Regions from separate parts of the Homo sapiens genome. Here region 1 is linked to region 2. Evidence: promoter capture Hi-C in human tissues and cell types (Jung and others, 2019). All regions are on one chromosome and are shown on one strand. The core of a region is centred on a gene start or on the middle of the fragment in contact, and the rest is flanking DNA. Distances in the headings are between cores, read along the strand shown. Region 1 overlaps DIAPH1 (diaphanous related formin 1). Region 2 holds the start of SLC25A2 (solute carrier family 25 member 2).

Region 1 (5,185 bases), core at 308-2,807, 270 kb after region 2:
TCTGGGAAATACATTCTTCAATCAACTTATAGTACTGAGGTCTACAAGAGAATAAAAACAGGGTCATCAAAGGAAAATCAAAATATAATTTTCAGAAGTATTCAGGACCAAGAAAACGTAATTGCTCTGACAACTGAGAGACCTGGAAAAACTTTTGTAAAGTTAACACAAGTATTGCTGCCATGCTAAGAAAACTCCTTTTTCCACATCAGCTACCCTACCCTATCTACTTCAAATAATCAAAACTTCTTGCCATCCGCTCCTAGTGCCAATACTTTCCCATCTAAAAATTTGCGTTTGATCCTTCCTGTGATGGATAGTGCTATTGCTAAATCTATACTTCCAGGAAACTAGAAAGAATTTTAAATTGCCACTTCTGTTTGCTAACATCTTCATCCTATTTACCTACTCCCCTCCAAAAACAGAACGGCATTTCACCTTATACACTCTGACCTCTGCCATAGGGATGCCTTTGAGTTGGATTAAAGAAATAAGACAACTTCCTTTATATCGGTGACTAATGAACCCTAATCTTGGGTCTTTGTCTTTACATTTTCCTTTTACAGAACAATCTTTGAATTTAAGGAATTCACTCTCTCCACTTAGGCTCAAATTCAAAACTTCTCATAAGCACAGCATCTTACCTGGCCTCATAGTCATTTCGGACCAAGAGTAAGTGCTGCAGGATGGAAAGGAAGTGTGGCTCTGCCTTTGAATCCTTCACTGTGTTTAAGAGAATCTGAAAGACTTCATTAAAGTCAGTGGAAAAGGGAAATAGGCTAAGGAAAGCAAATATGCAGAAATTATGTTTGACAGGTGGCTTATTTAACTCTTGAAAAAGCTAGGGAAAAGTAGCAAGACACCACTTCCATTCTACTGGCTGTTCTTCCTGTAAACATCACCAGAAACTTTAAGCTTTCTAAAACGTCCTTTAAGGGACCAGTGAATTGGGTGGTACTATACACACAGAGGATTCCTAGTAAGTACTTGGCTTGAAGATCAGGCAGTAGACAGAAAATAAGAGGTAACTGCCTCAAAGTCACTTACTGAAAATATTAACAGGTAACTAAATTACTCCCTCTGTCAGTCCAAACATCTCTAAAAGCCAGTTCTACATCTTAGTAAGCTAAGCTATCACATTCTAGGAAGTTTACACTGATTTTGATGGCTTCCATGCTCAACAACCCTCAGATCACCTTTACTGACTTCCCTGATCTATGATAAGCTAAGTAAAGCCAGCGCAATAAAAATACACCTGCCTTATTTAATGAGAAGACACATAAGCCTGATGCTCTGTTCTGAGTCATCATCTCCCAAACCATTCCACACAGGGATCAGGGAACTAAATACAATGAATGTCTCATCTGCCTTGAACCTAGTCAGCAAAAGGATATTCCATCTCCATGCGAATGTCATCCAGCCGTCCCTTCAGGTCATAGGAATCCTCTTCCCCTTGTTCATCAAACACATTTAGTTGCACTCTCATATCTTCATTTTCAATCTCTCGAAGGTCCTGTCAACAACAAAAGTAGAAGTCAGGGAACCCAAAAGTATCCTCTGTGGTTAGAAACCTAAGCTTTTCAACCTGGTTTTTAATTGAAAACCAGAATTATCCCCGGGATTATTGGGGCTGTAGAGCAAGAAGGAACCAGTCTAGCCTTTCTAATGAAGTGTAATATCTTACCTGCAACACCTGATGTAGCCCCAAACGCATCAGTTCACTTCTGATGTGAACTCGGAAGTCAAGTTCCTCCGCTGGTGTGATGAGAGCATTGATCAGCTGTAGGCATCCAACCTAAAATAAGAAAATTCAGCAGCTATGTCAATGCTAACTCCTGGAGATCAAGAATCCATTTTCTTTACATGCATTCTTAGGTCCCCAATACAACCTGAAAGATACAATACAAAAACTCTAAAGATGACTTTTCTACTATAGCAATGAGACCTGGTTTGAGTACAGATCCGGAGAGCCTAAACTCTAAATGGTTTCAAGGATTTGAGAGTATATGTTATTGTAGGTCTTGGTTTTCCTAGATTGTAAATAGATATCATGCCTTTTTCCATCTCATAATGAGGAAAACAGTTCATTCTTTACCTTCTTAGAAAGAAGGTTAATCATTTTCCCTTCATAACAGATTCTGAAATGTAAAATATATAGTTGGGAGGCACTCCATGTATTTTATTAAAAGGTCAAATGAATTTAAGTCTGTCCATCTTGAATTCTATTCTTGGGCCCAGTTTCAGGGGATATACATGCCTTCAGTGCAATAGTGGTTCCACTTTTTAATCCATCCAGCAGCGGCTGGAAACGTTCCACTTCATCCATCTCAGCTCTTTCTGTCATTGCCTCCAAAACCCTTTCATTCCTGCCCAAGAGAAAGGAAACGGAGAGAACTTTCCAGGTACTGTGACACGGACACGTATAATGAGTAAATTACACAGGGGCACAGACCGATTAGGAAACAGGACATTATCAGTGTTCCGGATTTCTCACATTATTATTCTCACCACTCAGTTTCCAGAAACTGCTGAAAGCTAAGGACCATCTCTTCAGGGAAATGCATTCCCTACAATCCATCCCTAGGCTCCTGTCCATAAATACCAAATCAAGTCCCCTATTCAATGAAGTATAAATTGATACAACTTTTGGAGGGGCATTTAACAGTACTAATCAATTTCTCATGCATGTAACATATAGTCTACTTCTAGAAATGTATCCAACATATGGGCATAAATGTGAAAGAAGATATGCACAAGGATGTTCACTGCAGTATCATTTGTAAAAATGATCACCTAGAACAGATAGTGAAATCTGCTTTAAAAAATATCTGTAAGTTGGCTGGGCGCAGTGGCTCACGCTTGTAATCCTAGCACTTTGGGAGGCCGAGGCGGGCGGATCACAAGGTCAGGAGTTCGAGACCAGCCTGGCCAATAGGGAGAAACCCCATCTCTACTAAAAATACAAAAATTAGCCAGGCGTGGTGGCGGACTCCTGTAGTCCCAGCTACTCGGGAGGCTGAGGAAGGAGAATCGCTTGAACCTGGGAGGAGGAGTTTGCAGTGGGCCGAGATCGCGCCACTGCACTCCAGCCTGGGGAACAGAGCGAGCCTCCGTCTCAAAAAAAAAAAAGGAAAAAAAAAAAATCTGTAAGTCCAGCAACAGGGGAATTGTTAAATAAATTATAGGCCATACATACATGTATATGGAATACTAAATAGCTACTAAAGATAATAAGGTAGATCTGTAAGTACCGACATAGAAGAAATGTCCAAGATCTACTATTAAAAAGAAACAGGTTGAAAAGAATGATTTAGCTTTGGTTAAACCAAATCCCTCTTCAATAATAAAAATCTATCCTATATATGCAGTTAGTTTTATAGGCATAAGTGTCATTCCTCAGCTCTTAAGATACTATCTTTTGCGGTGGCAGATGTCTAGAATCAAGGGAACGCAATATGTTTGTCTATGCTTAGGAAACGTTCTATGAGACTATACCATGCCATTAACAGTCATTCTCTTTGCAGAATAGGATTTGGCAAAGGGATGAGGCAGTTAAATTTTACTTTATATACTTCTATATCGTTTGAGTTTTAAAAATAACATTGTGCCACTTCTGAATTAAAAAAAAAAAGAATAGTAAAAAGAAACCCTCATCCTAGACAATACAGATATTAATGGAGATATAGGAGACATTTTGCTATACCTCTGATGACCAGTGGAACATTCAGGATAGCACCCATCACTTAGGAATTGTTCTTAAATTTTAAGATGCTTAGTGTTCACTTCTGGGAAGAAACACAATCTTACCTAGTATTTATGACCGAGAGGACACCCAACCAACTCAATTGTCCTCTGAACTAAGAGAAAATGATAAAATTGAAAATGGAGAAGAAAAATTATTCCAGTCACATACATGTCCTCTGGCTGCGGTAGAATACAAAGAGCAGAAAGCAGCTTAGCTGCATCAATCATCATGTTGGGAACAGCAGGATCCATGGCTCTGACCAGCAGTAGGATTCCTTCTTCTGTCTCCAACATGGTCTTGATTCCAAACTGGTAGGACCAAGAACAAAGAAAGGAGGCTGAAAGACGAAAGCATCTAACTGGGGGACAAGTTTACGGGTTGTTATGGGTTGAATGGTGTCCTCTTAAATTCCAGTGTTGAAGTCCCAACCCCCAGTACCTCAAAATGTAACCTCATCTGGAAATATACTCATTGCAAATATAATTAGTCAAGCTACAATGAAGTCCTGCTGGGGTAGAAAGGGTCCTTAATCCAATATGACCAGTGTCCTTATAAAAAGAGGAAATTTGGATATGGATACATACAGAGGGAGAACACCATGTGATCACATAGGCAGAGATCAGGATGATGCATCTACAAGATAAGGAGTGCCAAGGATTGCCAACAAGCTACCAGAAACTAGGAGGGATATGGAACATATTACCATATACAGCTTCAGAAAGAACCAACCGTGCTGGTACCTTGGATTTTGAAATTCTAGCCTCTAGAATTGTGAGATAATAAATTTCTGTTAAGATATCTAATTTTGTGGTACACTAGCAAATTAATACAGGGGTAGAATACTTTTCCCAATATAATTAGAGATGAACATACCAAAATAATTTTCTAGGAGGCACAACAGAATTAGATGTCTTCCAAGAATAAAAGTCTTTGATTTATATGTTTCTTGTTAATTCTCTCCCCGCAATCCAATGGAATAAGTTAATTATAACAAAATTAAACAATGAGGAAGAGAGATTTGTCCTCAGAGGCACAGGACTGTGGGCTCACTAGGTTGAATTACTAAACAGACAAAAAGAAGATAAAAATGGAGCAACAGTCTAGAAGAAAAAAGAAACAGGAAATAAAGCAAATATTGCAGAGACAATAACTACAGGTCAGGAAATTCAAGAATTAGCAAAAGAAAGTAAAGAAACAGGCCGGGCGCTGTGGCTCATGCCTGTAATCCCAGCACTTTGGGAGGCCAAGGCGGGTGGATCACAAGGTCAGGAGATCGAGACCGTCCTGGCTAACATGGTAAAACCCCGTCTCTACTAAAAATAAAAATTAAAAAAAATACCCGGGCGTGGTGGCGGGTGCCTGTAGTCCCAGCTACTCGGGAGGCTGAGGCAGGAGAATGGCATGAATCCAGGATGTGGAGCTTGCAGTGAGCCGAGATCG
Region 2 (5,075 bases), core at 1,238-3,737:
ATACTCTAGATCATCCCTAACCATATAGGCAGAGTGCAGAATATAATCCCACTTTGAAAATGGATAACACTATATTAAGGGTATTGTTTCTTGGGAAAATCCACAATGCTTACTCTGAAACTTTTAACTCAAGAATGTCAAAGCCACACTGGTATGCAGGTACCTTCTCCTCTTAAAAATATAGATGAGGCCAGGCGCAGCGGCTCACACCTGTGATCCCAGAACTTTGGGAGGCCTAGGCGGGTGGATCACCTGAGGTTAGGAGTTCATGACGAGCCTGGCCAACATGGCAAAGCCCCATCTCTACTAAAAACACAAAAGTTAGCCGGGTGTGGTGGCGTGCACCTGTAGTCCCAGCTACTTGGGAGGCTGAGGTAGAAGAATCACTTGAACCCAGGAGGCGGAGGTTGCAGTGAGCCAAGATCGTGCCACTGCACTCCAGCCTGGGCAACAAGAGTGAGACTGCATCTCAAAAAAAAAAAGTATATATATATATATACTTTTTCTCATATATATATATATATGAGAGAGAGAGAGAGAGAGGAGTATTTTGGTATCAAGCACCACATGAAGATGTTTCAAAACTTGAACCGCCTAATGTAGTGCGCATGTTAAGCAGACTTTAAAAGAGATCCTGGCCGGGTGCGGTGTCTCATGCCTATAATCCCATCACTTTGGGAGGCTGAGCTGGGTGGATCACCTGAGGTCAGGAGTTCGAGACCAGCCTGGCTAACATGGTGAAACCCCATCCCTACTAAAAATACAAAAATTAGCTGGGCATGGTGGCGGGCACCTGTAATCCCAGCAACTCGGGAGGCTGAGGCAGGAGAATCGCTTGAACCAGGCAGGCAGAGGTTGCAGTGAGCCAAGATCATGCCACAGCACTCCAGCCTGGGCGACAGAGTGAGACTCTGTCTCCAAAAAAAAAGAAAAAAAGAGAGAGTGATCCTAAGTAATCATTCATACCTATCTTCACAAAATATGGTCAATTCTGGGTTTGGGGGGCTGATATTTGAGATTATATATAGAACTAAATTGTTTCACTCACGACATAGAATCATCCAAACTGCATGTACACACAAATGGCTTTATGCAAAGGCCCTGACAGAACGATATTTAGTTTTTCAGATTAGGTACATAGGGCCAACCAGCCCACCCTGTACATTCCAGCAAGTGCAAGAGCAGCAACTTTCCTATTTCAATACAATTATGGGCAGAAATTATATGATGTAAAATAGAGGCCCTTCCATAAAGTTAAGATTTAGGGTAGAAGAAGGGAAGATAAAACCAAAATTCCCATGAAGTCAAAATTAGACAGTGGTCTTGTACTCTGCTGAACCCTGTGATGAACTGTAGTCCTCAAACTCATGGACTCGGATCCAGGTTCACCAAGACACTTCAGTATGCTTCCAACTGTTTCATCATCATCTTCCTGCTGTATTCGTAGGCCACAAACAGTGCCCCATTGGCAGGGATTGCTCGAATCATAGTAGCTTTCAGTCCAGAATATAAGGCTACTATTCCTTCATTTCTCACAACACTTAAGAGGGTACCAATAAATCCTGCCTGTTTCCCATACATGGAAAGAACTTGAATTCTGGATTTAATACAATCCACTGGGAACACGACAAGCCACAGGCAAATTCCAGCAACTCCACCACTTAACATCAAATGGACAGGGCCTAGTTCATCTTTTGATCTCCCTGACGCAAAAAACGATCGGCTCAGTTCATAGCCACCAAAGAAAAAGAAATAACCCGGTACTTCTTGAAGTAGAGTACTCGAGAGTCCATGGTAGAAGCCCAAGGGGCCATCCTTTTTAAGGATACCCTTCACGACAGACCAAATTGTATTATGGCTTTTTGCTATCTTCCCTGACATCTCCATTTCATACATGGTCTGTAGCCGGCACTTCACAAGCTCAGTGGGGCAGAGAGCCAGTGCAGCAAATGCAGAGGCGAAGGACCCCGCGGCTGCAGTCTGGAGATCACTCAGCTTTGCCTGCTTGTCCATTCCAGCCACTTTCCTGACAAACTGCTGGCAGAACCCGTAGCACATGAAGAGGACCGAGTTTTCGGCGACGTAGGCCATAAGTGCCGGGCCGGTGCCCTTGTAGAAGCCCCGGAGACCCACTTGAGCGTATGTCTTCAGGAAGCAGTCGGTGAGGCCCTTGTACAGGTCAGGGAACGTCTGCATCTTCACTTTTATTGTGTCGAAGGGCTGCCCAGTCAGTACACACGCTGTCCCCCCTGCGGCCCCCGCTGTGAGGTCGATGGCGGCTTGGATGCCAGGACCGGACTTCATGTTCGCTCACTCGTCTGAGGGTCCCAGTGGAAGGCGACTAACTCCCCAGAGCGTGAGACCGGCTTTTCACGTCCAGCCGCAGCGAGCGCGGGGAATGGAGTTGGGGGTGGTGGGGTGGCTCTACCGCCTGTTCTGGGCTCTCACCCCAGTGCGGGGGAAGCCGCTCAACCCTACGCTCCGCCGCGGGCCGCCCCCTCCCCGCGCACTAAAATAACCCCCAGCTGCCGGCCCAGCGCGCGGCTCACTAGCGTTCCTGCGGCTCCTGGCGCACTGGCCGGGCCCCCAGCCGCCTCCAGCCTGGAGCCGCCATCCCTGCACCCGCAGGCGGGGGACGCGGACCGAATAAATACTTTTAGTGTACTGCGACTGGGCGCGGTGGCTCACTCCTGTATCCCAGCACTTTGGGAGGCCGAGGCGGGAGGATCGCTTGAGCCCAGGAGATCGAGACCAGCCTGGGCAATATGGCAAGACTCCATTTCTACAAAAACGAAAAAATACCCGGGCGCGATGGCGCGCGCCTGTGGTCCCAGCAATTCAGGAGAATGAAGCGAGGATCGCTTGAACCCGGGAGGTCGATGCTGCAGTGAGCTATGATCGCACACTGCACTCCAGGGTGGGCGAAAGGGTGAGGCTCTGTCTCAAAACAAAACCAAAACCAAGAAAACATGTAAAGCTTTTCGATAAATTCTTGCAATTATGGCCGGGAACTCTAGACGCCGCAGTTCAGCTGGCGGCAAAAGAAATGCTGTCCTAATCAGTCAGCCCTGCTTCTTTTCTTTTCTCTCTTTTTTTTTTTTTTGACTTAGGGTCTCACTCGGCCGCCTAAGCTGGAGTTCAGTGGCGCGATCCTGGCTCACTGCAGCCCCAATCTCCTGGCCTCAGGCGATCCTCTCACCTCAGCCTCCTGAGTAGCTGAGACTAGAGGGACTACAGGCGCAAGCCACCACATCTGGCTAAATTTTGTATTGTACAGACGGGGTTTCGCCATGTTGCCCAGGCTAGTCTCGAACTCCTGAACTCAAGCAATCCACCCACTGGCCTCCCAAAGTGTTGGGGCTTACAAGCATGAACCACCACACCCGGCCTATCCCACGCTTCTTACCATGCAAAAAACAAAAACAAACAACCCGAAAAGAAGATGCCCTCACTTGAATAGACCCTGAATTCAGAGGGTCAATCTACAAGAAAACTGCTTTAAAGTAGATAAGACAGGCCAGGTGTGGTGGCTCATGCCTGTAATCCCAACACTTGGAGAGGCTGCGGAGGGAGGCTCATTTGAGCCTAGGAGTTCAAGGCTAGCTTGGGCAGCAAAATGAGACACCCCTTACCCCCTACAAAAAATAAAGTAGAGAAGACAAACTGTCAGAGGCGCTGGAACCACAGCAACTCCATCTTGACTAGGGACTGAGTAAAATAAGGCCGAGACCTACTGGACTGCATTCCCAGGAAGACAGGCATTCTAAGTCACAGGATGAGATAGGAGGCCGGCACAAGATACGGGTCACAAAGACCTTGCTGATAAAACAGGTTTCAGTAAAGAAGCCAGCCAAATCCCACCAGAATCAAGATGGCATAATAAGTGACCTCTGGTCGTCCTTACTGCTCATTATACGCCAATTATAATGCATTAGCATGCTAAAAGACACGCCCACCAGCGCCGTGTCCACTTACAGATGCCATGGCAACAATAAGAAGTGACCCTATGTGGTCTAAAAAGGGGGAGGAATCCTCAGTTCCGGTAACTTTGGACCCCTTTCCCAGAAACCTCATGAATAATCCACCCCTTGTTTAGCTTACATTCAATAAAAAACTGTAAGTATCCTTAGTCAAGCCGCCCAGGCCACTGCTGTGCCTATGGAGTAGCCATTCTTTTGCTTCTTTACTTCTCTAATAAACTTGCTTTCACTTGACTCTATGAACTTGCCCCAAATTATTTCTTGCATGAGATCCAAGAACAATCTCTTGGGTCTGGATCGGGACCCCTGTCCGGTAACGAAACGATCTGAGGGTTGCTACATGAGAGACAGTGACTGCTTTTGATCAGAAAACCCTCAGCGATCTGCCCACGCTCCTCACTTTCCTGGGGGGCAAGGAGGGGAGTAGGGCACTGTGGGAATCCTTAGCCCTGGAGATGTGCTACTGCTTTCCTGCAGAGCTGGAGAAATGCTATCACATGGCAACATCCCCAAGGATCTGGGGTTGCAGCCCTGGGAACTGGTGGAACGTGGAGTCCTTATCATTTCTGAAGATAGAACACGGCACTATAAAATCAACTTGGAAAATGGATAGTATTTATATACTGCATTGCTAAGAAACTTGATAGAAAAGAGCTGGGTGGCTCAGCACTATGCTTTCTAAGTTTTGAGATTCTCTTTGAGGACCCACACAGCCTCATGCAGAAGTAGAAATTTGTCGTTTGTACACTGTTGGTGGGAATGTAAAATAGTTCAACCCCTATGGAAAGCAGTATGGAGATTTCTCAAAGAACTAAAAATAGAACACCCATTCAACCCAGCAATCCCACTATTAGGTATCTACCCAAAGGAAAAGAAATCATTTTATCAAAAAGACACCTGTGCTGGGGACAGTGACTTACACCTGTAATCCCAGAATTTTGGGAGCCCAAGCCAGGTAGATCGCTTGAGCCCAGGAGCTCCAGACCAGCCTGGACAACATGGCAAAATGCCATCTCTACAAAAAAATACAAAAAGTAGCCATGCATGATGGCATGCCCCTGTAGTGGCAGCTACACAGGAGGCGGAGATGGGAGG

Evidence for each region. Contacts are between HindIII fragments. The study calls those that stand out against the background at their distance.
Region 1: a contact is called between a fragment that was not itself captured here and the fragment with the promoter of SLC25A2 in region 2, in 1 of the 25 tissues and cell types used here (hippocampus).

The regions. Positions count from the first base shown.
Region 1 is chr5:141,576,831-141,582,015 of GRCh38, forward strand. DIAPH1 (diaphanous related formin 1) reads right to left here. Exons shown (of 28, transcript NM_005219.5): 8 at 3,914-4,053; 9 at 2,258-2,366; 10 at 1,685-1,795; 11 at 1,395-1,513; 12 at 645-761; 13 at 1-41. Among named protein-coding and RNA genes, the nearest start is that of DIAPH1-AS1, 21 kb to the left of the region's middle. The HindIII fragment of the contact is 3,959 bases long and covers 1-3,537 here.
Region 2 is chr5:141,301,562-141,306,636 of GRCh38, forward strand. SLC25A2 (solute carrier family 25 member 2) reads right to left here and starts at 2,488. Exons shown (of 1, transcript NM_031947.4): 1 at 1,074-2,488. The coding sequence starts at 2,304. The coding sequence ends at 1,399. The HindIII fragment of the contact is 6,230 bases long and covers 1-5,075 here.